4 separate regions of the Homo sapiens genome follow, and all the other regions are linked to region 4. Evidence: promoter capture Hi-C in 16 types of primary human blood cells and fetal thymus (Javierre and others, 2016). All regions are on one chromosome and are shown on one strand. Each heading gives the region's core, a stretch centred on a gene start or on the middle of the fragment in contact. The rest is flanking DNA. Distances are from core to core; before and after follow the strand shown.

The links. The method cuts DNA at HindIII sites, captures the fragments that hold promoters and counts their contacts. A CHiCAGO score of 5 or more calls a contact.
Region 1: a contact is called between a fragment that was not itself captured here and the fragment with the promoter of PYCARD in region 4, in 8 of 17 cell types (M2 macrophages, M0 macrophages, M1 macrophages and 5 more). The highest score is 16.8, in M2 macrophages.
Region 2: a contact is called between the fragment with the promoter of PRSS53 here and the fragment with the promoter of PYCARD in region 4, in 1 of 17 cell types (neutrophils). The highest score is 5.3, in neutrophils.
Region 3: a contact is called between a fragment that was not itself captured here and the fragment with the promoter of PYCARD in region 4, in 1 of 17 cell types (M0 macrophages). The highest score is 7.8, in M0 macrophages.

The regions. Positions count from the first base shown.
Region 1 is chr16:31,315,481-31,318,180 of GRCh38, reverse strand. The region is part of intron 14 of ITGAM (integrin subunit alpha M); the gene reads right to left. Among named protein-coding and RNA genes, the nearest start is that of ITGAX, 38 kb to the left of the region's middle. The HindIII fragment of the contact is 2,960 bases long and covers 1-2,700 here.
Region 2 is chr16:31,087,597-31,090,296 of GRCh38, reverse strand. PRSS53 (serine protease 53) reads left to right here and starts at 1,354. Exons shown (of 11, transcript NM_001039503.3): 1 at 1,354-1,545; 2 at 2,471-2,491; 3 at 2,598-2,700. The coding sequence starts at 1,488. RefSeq lists an enhancer at 1,177-1,677. The HindIII fragment of the contact is 23,145 bases long and covers 1-2,700 here.
Region 3 is chr16:31,124,740-31,127,439 of GRCh38, reverse strand. It overlaps KAT8 (lysine acetyltransferase 8), which reads right to left. Exons shown (of 11, transcript NM_032188.3): 4 at 352-405; 5 at 87-251. Among named protein-coding and RNA genes, the nearest start is that of KAT8, 8.4 kb to the right of the region's middle. The HindIII fragment of the contact is 7,764 bases long and covers 1-2,700 here.
Region 4 is chr16:31,201,489-31,204,188 of GRCh38, reverse strand. It overlaps PYCARD (PYD and CARD domain containing), which reads left to right and starts at 1,429. Exons shown (of 3, transcript NM_013258.5): 1 at 1,429-1,772; 2 at 1,986-2,042; 3 at 2,348-2,700. The coding sequence starts at 1,499. The coding sequence ends at 2,604. PYCARD-AS1 (PYCARD antisense RNA 1) reads right to left here and starts at 2,304. Exons shown (of 2, transcript NR_102400.1): 1 at 2,203-2,304; 2 at 737-1,729. RefSeq lists a silencer at 1,079-1,438 and enhancers at 1,549-1,778, 1,968-2,598. The HindIII fragment of the contact is 5,508 bases long and covers 249-2,700 here.

The DNA.
Region 1 (2,700 bases), core at 80-2,579, 110 kb before region 4:
GAAGGAATGGATAAATTCCTAGAAATATACAACCTACCAAGCCTGAATCATAAGGCAATAGAAAGTTTAAACAGATCTATAATGAGTAAGGAAATTGAATCAGTAATCAAAGACCTCCTAACAAAGAAAAGCCCAGGACCTGGTGGCTTCTCAGGCAAATTCTACCAACCAAACATTTAAATAAGAATTAATATGAATTCTTCTCAAACTCATCCAAAAAACTGAAGAGGAGGGAATACTTCCAAACTTATTGTATGAGGCAAGCACTATCCTGACACTAAATCCCAACAAACACACCATGAGAAAAGATCACTACATGCCAATTTCCCTATTGAACATAGATCCAAAATCCTAAATAAAATACTAGCAAACTGAATTCAATAGCACAAAAGGGTCATACGCCATGACCATGTGGGCTTTATTCCTGGCATGCAAGGATGGCTCAACATATGCAAATCAATAAATGTGATGCACCACATTAACAGAATAAGGAATAAAAATAACATGATCTTATCAATAAGAAAAGAAAGCATTTAATAAAACTAAACATCTGTCTTAGCTTATTTGGTATAACAAATAACATAGACTGGATGGGTTATAAGCAATAGAAATTTATTTCTCATAGTTCTGAAGACTTGTGACATCCAAAATCAAGGTGCAAGCAGATTCAATATCTGGTGAGAGCCTATTTTCTGGTTCATAGGCAACCATCATTTTGCTTTTGTCTAAGGGCACTAATCCTATTAATGATGGCCACACTCTCATGACCTAAACACCTTCCAAAGGTCCCATCTACAAATACCATCACACAAGGAATTAGGCTTCAACATATGAATCTGGGGAGGACACAAACATTCAGGCCACAGGAATAGCCACTCATGATTAAAAACCCTCAACAAACTAGAAATACAGGGAAATTACATCAACATGATAAAGAACATTAAAAAAAGTGTCTAGTTAACATCATACCCAGTGGTGAAAATTTGATTTTACCACTAAAATTAGGAACAAGGCAAGGATGCCCACACTCACCACTTCTATTTCAACACAGTACTGAAAGTCCTAGCCAGAGCAATTGGGCAAGAAAAAGATAAGAAATGCATTCAAGTTAGAAATAAAGAAAAAAAAATTGTCCCTGTTTGCAATTGACATGATCTTATATATAAGAAACTTGTTATAAATACTCTACGAAAAAGTTATCAAATTTAATAAACAAATTTAGTAAAGTCATGGAATACAAAATGAACATACAAAAATTATTTGTTTCTATACACTAACAACAAACTATCTGAAAAAGAAATTAATCCTATTTACAATGGCATCAAAAAATAAAATGCTTACAAGTTAATTTAACCAAGAAGGTGAAAAATATGCACACTAAAACTATAAAACATTGACGAAAGAAAGTTAAGACAAAAATCAATGGAAAGATATCCCATATTATGGATTGAAAGAATATTTTTAAAGGTCCATACTATTCAAAGTGATCGATAGAGTCAATGTAATTCCTACCAAAATCCCAATGGCATTTCTTACAGAAATAGAAAAAACAATACTAAAATTAATATGAAGTCACAAAAGACCTCAAATATCCAAGACAATCTTGAGCATAAACAACAAAGGTAGAGGTATCACACTACCTGACATCAAAATACACCACAAAGGTATACTCAGCAAAACAGCATGACACTGACATAAAAACAGAGACATTGACCAATGGAACAGAATACAGAGCTCAGAAATGAACCCATGCATTTACAATCAACTAATTTTCTTTTCTTTTTTTTTTTTTTCCAGACGGAGTCTTGCTCTGTTACCCAGGCTGGAGTGCAGTGGCATGATGTAGGCTCACTGCAACCTCTTCCTCCCAGGTTCCCCCATTCTCCTGCCTCAGCCTCCCGAGTAGCTGGAACTACAGGTGCCCACCACCATGCCTGGCTAATTTTTTTTTTTTTTTTTTTTTTTTTTTTTTTTTTTTTTGAGACGGAGTCTCGCTCTGTCGCCCAGGCCGGACTGCGGACTGCAGTGGCGCAATCTCGACTCACTGCAAGCTCTGCTTCCCGGGTTCACGCCATTCTCCTGCCTCAGCCTCCCGAGTAGCTGGGACTACAGGCGCCCGCCACCGCGCCCGGCTAATTTTTTGTATTTTTAGTAGAGACGGGGTTTCACCTTGTTAGCCATGACGGTCTCGATTTCCTGACCTCATGATCCACCCGCCTCAGCCTTCCAAAGTGCTGAGATTACAGGCATGAGCCACCGCGCCCGGCCAACAATCAACTAATTTTCAACAAAGGTGCCAAGGGCATACAATGGGGAAAGGACAGTCTTTTTAACAAATGGTGTTAAGAACACTGGATATCCACAGGCAAAAGAATGAAACTGAGCCTTTATCTCAAACCAAATACAAAAATCAAAAGTGCTGGGCCGGGTGCAGTGGCTCACGCCTGTAATCCCAGCACTTTAGGAGACTGAGGCGGGTGGATTACCTTAGATCAGGAGTTCAAGACCAGCCTGGCCAACATGGTGAAACCCCGTCTCTATTAAATATACAAAAAAGTAGCCAGGCATGGTGGCGGAGGCCTGTAATCCCAGCTACTTGGGAGGCTGAGGCAGGAGAATCGCTGGGACCCGGGAGGTGGAGGTTGCAGTGAGCTGAGATCGTGCCACTGCACTCCAGCCTGGGCAATAGAGAGAGACTCC
Region 2 (2,700 bases), core at 105-2,604, 110 kb after region 4:
ACCAGCCTGGGCAAAATAGTGAGACCCCTGTCTCTACAAAAAAAAAAAAAAAAAAAAATTAGCCAGGCATGGTGGTGTATGTACCTATAGTCCCAACTAATCGGGAAGCTGGCGGGAAGACTGCTTGAGCCCAGAAGGTTGAGGCTGCAGTGAGCCATGATCACTGCACTCCAGCCTGAGCAACAGAGCAAGACCGTCTCCAAAAAAAAACAAAAAACAAAAAAAAACTTGTGTTAACGTGTTAAACTCGTTTAATCTTTACAGTGATTTATGAGGTGGGTACTATTATTATCCCTATCTTGATGATAGGGACAGAGTGGCTAATTAGTATGCCTGAGATCACACAGCTACTGCAGGAGGCTCTCAGGATTTGAATCCACCTGGTCCATCTGGCTCCAGCATCTATATGCTTTTTTTTTTGTTGGTTTGTTTTTGAGACGGACTTTCGCTCTTGTTGTCCAGGCTGGAGTGCAATGGCACAATTTCGGCTCACCACAACCTCCACCTCCCAGGTTCAAGTGATTCTCCTGCCTCAGCCTCCCGAGTAGCTGGGATTACAGGCATGCGCCACCAGGCCTGGCTAATTTTGTATTTTTAGTAGAGACAGTGTTTCTCTATGTTGGTCAGGCTGGTCTCGCACTCCCGACCTCAGGTGATCTGCCTGCTTTGGCCTCCCAAAGTGCTGGGATTACAGGCGTGAGCCACCATGCCCGGCCAGCATCTATAATATATGCTAAACCTTACCCACAGCTGCCTCTGTCTTGGGGTCAGGGTTCTTGAATGGTCTGGGCCAGCCTGAGTTAGGAGTGGGAAGAGGAAGAGGAGGCACGCGCCAAAGTGTTCTTCCCGCCTGACCGAGTCCTCTGCGCCTATGAGGAAGGTGGGCACCGCTGTCACCCTGTTTCCCAGGAAGCCAGCAGGCCCAGGGAGATACTGGGATTTGCCAAAGGCTCACAGCGAGCAAGCAGCAGTGGGTGCTGGCTCCTCACCACTCAGCCTGGCACACACTGTCTCTGAGCAGACCTGGGAGAAGGCATGTGAAACCCACCTAGCCCTGGCTGGAAGAGAAGTGGGGGAGTGGAAATGAAAAGTGGGGACTGGGAGGAGCTGCCCACGTGCCCTCCATGGTTCCAGGATGGCACTTTCATGCTGGGAGTGAGCTTGCCCTGTGCCAGGCTGTCATTGAGACGTTTTCCATTCAACAACTGTTTCTCAGACAAGGCACAGGCAGGTTAGCTCTCCCAGGCCACTCAAGTAGTAAGGAAACAGATTTAAACCCAGACAATTTGGCTCCACGGCTAAGGCCCAGAGAGGGGTGGTGACAAGCCTAGGGTCACACAGCCACAGCCCCAGAGCTAGGAACTGCTGGCTAGGGCAAGCAGACAGCTGAATCCTAGCCAACTGGAGGTGGAGCAGAGGTGGAGCCAGGGAGACCCAGGTGGCCTCTCTCAGAGTGGAGCACAGGTGGCAGAGTGGCCCGGGGCAGCATGAAGTGGTGCTGGGGCCCAGTGCTGCTCATCGCGGGTGCCACAGTCCTCATGGAGGGTAAGCCGCCATGTGCTGGGGTATGGGTGTGGCCTGGTGGGGGCTCAGGGGCCATCTCTGCCCCAGCAGTCCCTGCTTCTTGGTGGGGGGACCGCCTGTGGGCGACAGTCCACCAGTGGGGATGTAACTCCGTAGGACTCTGTGGGGTGGTATATGTGGCCACCTGTGTCAACATGGATGAGATTTTCTCGGGCCAGCTGCAGTTTGCGTTGGCGGGGCCTGTGGTCTTGTGTGTGTGTGAGGTGCTGCCTGCGTGTGTCCTGTGCCTGCCTCCCCCTCGACTTCCACAATGACGTCAGGCAAACTCTGGGCTCCTCTGGCCTCAGTTTCCCTTTCTTTTCATCCATCCTCTGGGCAGCCTGGCTCAGCTGTCTCATGGGGTGCCTGTGTGCCTGTGAGGGGCGGTGGGCAGGGGCCCTCTCTCTGGCGGGCTCTCAGACAGTTTCTGGGAAGGTGGGGAAGACTGAGTCTCTAGACCAGGGTGAGGTAAGTCTCCATTTCTTGGGGCCCTCCCCACTTGGAAATGATGCAGGCCTCTAATCCTTCCTCTTAGGCCTCTGCTGCTAAGAGGACAATTAAGCTAATGCTCTCTACACACACAGGCCGCCTGGCTGACTCAGTGGCGGGGGCAGGAGTTGGGGGTTCTGAAGCCTGGAGGAGGGCTGGCCTACTCCCAAGCTGAACCCCAAGCCCCAGAGTGCTGAGCACAGCTGAAGGAGAATTAATTACTGAGTGTGCACACTGAATAGGTTCCAATAAAAGCTGTCTCGGCCTCATATAAATATTTTCATTCTGGGAGGGGCTGGTAAGGTAATCAGAGTCACAGGCAAGGACCCTGGGCCCGCCCCCCAGCCCATCCCCTCTCCTCCCCAAAGCTAGGCAGGCCTGGAGTCCCTGCATCTTACCTGTGTCTCTCTCTTCCCAGGTCTTCAAGCCGCTCAGCGTGGTAAGGTCTGGGGACACGGGGCCTAGGTCTTACTTGGGTCTGGGTTGGGACTGGGGTGAGGTCAGGACAGGTATCTGCTGTCAGTGTGACTAACTCCTTTCCACAGCCTGTGGACAGCGTGGCCCCGGCCCCCCCAAGCCTCAGGAGGGCAACACAGTCCCTGGCGAGTGGCCCTGGCAGGCCAGTGTGAGGAGGCAAGGAGCCCACAT
Region 3 (2,700 bases), core at 25-2,524, 77 kb after region 4:
GCCGGCGCAGCCGCCCTCAGTCTCCATGCCTGCCTCTGCCTCTCACCGGGCCCCTGCCCAGCTCGGCCCGGCCGGCCCAGCCTCACCAAGTGGAAGCGGTAGCTCTTCTCATATTTCATGTACTTGAGGCAGTACTCGCAGAGCCAGAGCTTGGGCTGTTTCCCATAGTCTTCGGGGAATGGTGAGAAATACCAGGCATCAATTTCGTAGTTCCCGATGTGGATCTTGTCCACATACTTCACCTTGGTGATCTGCAGGCAGGGTGGGAGTGAGGCACAGTGCACGGCTCAGCAGGGGCTCCTCGGCAAGGGGAGACGGGGGACCTGCAGGCAGCTTCCCAGCCCCACTTACCGCCTCATGCTCCTTCTCCAAGGCTGCTGTGGTGGGGTCCATCTCTGCATAAGTCTGGGCCAGGAAAGAAAAGTGGGCAGAGGTGAACAGAAGTGGTGACCAGGCTGTCCCTCCCGTCAGGACCCACAAGGCTTCCCTGCCGTCTACCAGACCTCATTCCTGGATGGCAATAATAACCACACCAATAGCTAACCTATCTGACTTGGTTCTGAAGCTGGCTGGTCCAGACTCCTCTCACACCCACCCGCCCCACCCCCGATATCCCAGACATCCCTGATGTCCAAGTTTGGACCTTTTGCCAGATGAACAGGGTTAGGATCAGGATGGGGCTTCAGCTGCACGATGGGGGGCAATCCAGCTCTGCCAAAGTTGTGAGACTCAAATGAAATAACAGATTTGCCTTCCAGGCCCAGCGTAAGAACTGTTACTACCTCCCCGATGTTCCTGGACCCCTTTCCTGAGGACCAGACCCTGCCTGCCCATGCGACTGCCCCAGAGGTCCCTCCCACAGGGACAGCGGACTCAAGATGTGCAGAAAGGACCTCATCACTCCTCCCTGCAAACCTGCGCCTCCTCCTGGGTTGCTCATTTTACTGGGAACATCACCCTTGGTCCCAGTGTCCAAGACCCATAACTAGGCTTGCCTCAGACTACTCTCTCTCCCTCGGCCTGGCCAAGTCCTAATACAGTGGATGTCGAGTCTACTTCTGACATCTCTGGAATTGGGCCCTCTCTGGAATTCTCCTCTCTGTCCTGCTCCAGGTAGTCATGGCCCCATCTCAGGTCTGGACAATTTACTAGGCCGCCTCAGACTCCCTGCCTCCAGCCCCAGCCTCCTCATTGCTATCAGCAGCCCCCTTTTAGCGGCCTTCATGCTTCTGCACAAACAGCTCCTTCTACCTGGAGAATGCCCTTCCTTCTCTCACTGCCAGCAGAAAACACTTCCTCAGCCTGGCACGGAGCATGAGTCAGGTGAGTCCATGATGCTTTGTGATCTATCCTTTGTCACTGTTGTTATTGTGCTCTTTCCCATCCTTCAAGGCTTGAGATTCTTACCACCCCCTCCAGGAGGCCTGACTGGATTCTTCCCATCCAGAAAACATTCCCTCCTTCCCAAGTTCAGCGAGAAGTGGTCAACAGGGCAACACTGTCCAAGTATGCCCACCTGGGTTCCTCTATTTTTCAAGTCCTTAGAAAGCAGAGACTAAGAGTCACACCACACTCACAACACATCCTGCTCCTAGGCCAGACCCTGTGGGAGGAACCCAGTACAGCCTGACAATGGAAGGGGGACCCAAGACGGTCCATGACCTACACCAGGGCAGACAAGGCCCTGCCCTGTAGCTGAGAAGGGAGGAAGGAGCCAGTGCTTTACCCAGAACCCCCTCCACAAAGCACTGTGCCTATATGTTTATATGGCCTCATTTAATCCTTTCAGTAACCCTTACATAGAGTGTTATTTCTTTTTTTTTTTTTTTTTTTTTTGAGACGGAGTCTCACTCTGTTGCTCAGGCTGGAGTACAGTGGCACCATCTCGGCTCACTGCAACCTCCGCCTCCCAGGTTCAAGCAATTCTCCTGCCTCAGCCTCCCAAGTAGCTGGGACTACAGGCACATGCCGCCACATCCAGGTAATTTTTGTATGTTTAGTAGCAATGGAGTTTCGCCATGTTGGCCAGGCTGTTCTCAAACTCCTGACCTCAGGTGATCAACCAGCCTCGCACTCCCAAAGTGCTGAGATTACAGGCGTGAGCCACTGCACCCAGCTGCGTTATTTCAATTTTACAGAGTAGTAAACAGGCAGGGCAAGGTGAGGTCCCTTACCCTCGGGGACTAGTGAGCTGCCATTTATTCCAAGTGGCAAGCACGGCACAGACATGTTTTTTTTTTTTTCTTCTGAGATAGACTCTCACTCTGTCGCCCAGGCTGGAGTGCAGTGGGGAGATCTCAGCTCACCACAACCTCTGCCTTCTGGGCTTAAGTGATTCTCCTACGTCAGCCTCCCAAGTGGCTGAGACTACATGTGCCTGCTACCATTCCCAGCTAATTTATTTTGTTTTTTGAGATGAAATTTTGCTCTTGTTGCCCAGGCTGGAGCAATGGTGCAATCTTGGCTCACTACAACCTCCACCTCCTGAGTTCAAGCGATCTTCCCACCTCAGTGTCCCAAGCAGCTGGGATTACAGGCGCCCACCAGCAAGCCCGGCTAATTTTTTGTATTTTTGGTAGAGATGGGGTTTCACCATGTTGGCCAGGCTGGTCTTGAACTTCTGACCTTCAGATGATCCACCCACCTTGGCCTCTCAAAGTGCTGGGATTACAGGCATGAGCCATAGCCTTTTTTTTTTTT
Region 4 (2,700 bases), core at 180-2,679:
TGATCACCCACCTCGCCCTCCCAAAATGCTGGGATTACAGGCATGAGTCACCGTGCCCGGCCCATCCTGGTTGTCTTGTTTGTTTTTGAGACAAGGTGTCTGTTGCCGAGTGGCACAGAGTGCAGTGGCACAATCATAGCTCACTGCACCCTCAACCTCCTGGGCTCAAGTGACCCTCCGGCCTCAGCCTCCCAAAGCACTGAGATGACATGCGTGATGAGCCACTGCACCCAGCCATGCTGGAAGCTTTTGAATACAACATGCTGCAGGCATCACAGCCTCATTCATTCCTTCACTCAGCAAATCTTTACTCAGCACCTAATGTGTTCCAGATACATTTTTTTTTTTCAGATGGAATCTAGCTCTGTCACCCAGGCTGGAGTGCAGTGGTGCAATCTTGGCTCACTGTAGCCTCTGCCTCCGAGGTTCAAGCGATTCTCATGCCTCAGCCGCCCTAGTAGCTAGGATTACAGGCGCCCTCCACCACACACAGCTATTTCCAGGTACATTCTTGACGCTAGGAATTCAGCAAAGAATAAGACAGTTAAGGTCTCCGATGCTCATAGGCCTCACATTTTAGAGAGGGATGAATGTCCAATAAGCATATAAACGTATAATATGTCAGGGTCGTATGACTACAAGGAACAGTGATTGTTACAACCCAGATGAGAGGGAAAAATAAAGGATTCCAAATATCCCCCTTGGGAAGTAGAGTCAGGATTCAAACAAAGAACTGTATGGCTTCAAGTTCATGGTCTTTAATCTCCTGGAGGCTGTCTCTCTTTCTTTTTTCTTTTTTTTAATCAGTGTTGGGATCAAATTCTGGCTCCCCTAGGAAGCATCTGGCAAGGTTTCGGGAGCCATCGGGTTGGCCATGTTATGCTGGAATATTTATAAGCACCGGAGGGTTATCCCCATGTCGTAGAAAATGAAACTGAAGCTCAGAGAGATTTGCACTCTCTGCCCTTTTGTACAACTCATTTTTCCCCAGTATGTGGAATTGAGGGAGCTTCACGCTTCTAGCTGTCATGATTCCAAGATTCTACGACATGTGGGAGAGGATCCTAAGGTTCGGGGAACCGCGGAGGTTTCGGGGTTCTAGAAATCCGAGGTTCTAAGCCTAGGTGCTCCAATAAACCCAGTGAGAGCCAGCCCAGGTTTCCGGTCTGTACCCGCTGGTGCAAGCCCAGAGACAAGCAGGCGCCACCCATGAGCCCCTCTGCGGCCCCCTCCCGGGTCCCACCTCGCAGGCCAGCTGGAGGGCGCGATCCTGGCGTCCCCCGACGGCCTGGGGCCCCAATCCAGAGGCCTGGGTGGGAGGGGACCAAGGGTGTAGTAAGGAAGCGCCTTTTGCTGGAGGGCAACGGACCGGGGCGGGGAGTCGGGAGACCAGAGTGGGAGGAAGGCGGGGAGTCCAGGTTCCGCCCCGGAGCCGACTTCCTCCTGGTCGGCGGCTGCAGCGGGGTGAGCGGCGGCAGCGGCCGGGGATCCTGGAGCCATGGGGCGCGCGCGCGACGCCATCCTGGATGCGCTGGAGAACCTGACCGCCGAGGAGCTCAAGAAGTTCAAGCTGAAGCTGCTGTCGGTGCCGCTGCGCGAGGGCTACGGGCGCATCCCGCGGGGCGCGCTGCTGTCCATGGACGCCTTGGACCTCACCGACAAGCTGGTCAGCTTCTACCTGGAGACCTACGGCGCCGAGCTCACCGCTAACGTGCTGCGCGACATGGGCCTGCAGGAGATGGCCGGGCAGCTGCAGGCGGCCACGCACCAGGGTGAGCCGCCCCCGTTCCCCTCCACCCCGTCTTTCCCCTCCACCCACACCAGCGCTTACCCCGCGGGCTCTTCCGCTTTCTGTTCCTCCTACCCCTAAACAAAGCTGCTCTACCGGAAAGGAGGCTCCCCACGCTTGGCCTACCGACCAACGGGACCCCGGCCCCACGGCGGGAAGGGAAGGGAAGGGGATCACTTGGCCCATATCCTTCCAGGCTCTGGAGCCGCGCCAGCTGGGATCCAGGCCCCTCCTCAGTCGGCAGCCAAGCCAGGTGAGGCCTCCACACCCAGCCCGGCCCCACCGCACTCCTGCACAGCCTGCATCTGTGCTCCCGCAACCAGGGCAGGGCAGGGCAGGGCAGGCACGGCTTGGCAACCCTGCGCACCCCACCCACCAACCCACACCCTGCGGGGGAAGGGAGACAATATTACCCTCATCCCACTGCATGTGGGGTCCTGGTGGCCGCCCCCTGGAGCCCTGCCCCTAGGCTTGCAGAGGAATTCCTGAAGAACTCAAGTTCAGCAGGGACAGGCCCCACACCCTGGCTGCTGGCTCATGTTCTCCTCCCACCCCCAGGCCTGCACTTTATAGACCAGCACCGGGCTGCGCTTATCGCGAGGGTCACAAACGTTGAGTGGCTGCTGGATGCTCTGTACGGGAAGGTCCTGACGGATGAGCAGTACCAGGCAGTGCGGGCCGAGCCCACCAACCCAAGCAAGATGCGGAAGCTCTTCAGTTTCACACCAGCCTGGAACTGGACCTGCAAGGACTTGCTCCTCCAGGCCCTAAGGGAGTCCCAGTCCTACCTGGTGGAGGACCTGGAGCGGAGCTGAGGCTCCTTCCCAGCAACACTCCGGTCAGCCCCTGGCAATCCCACCAAATCATCCTGAATCTGATCTTTTTATACACAATATACGAAAAGCCAGCTT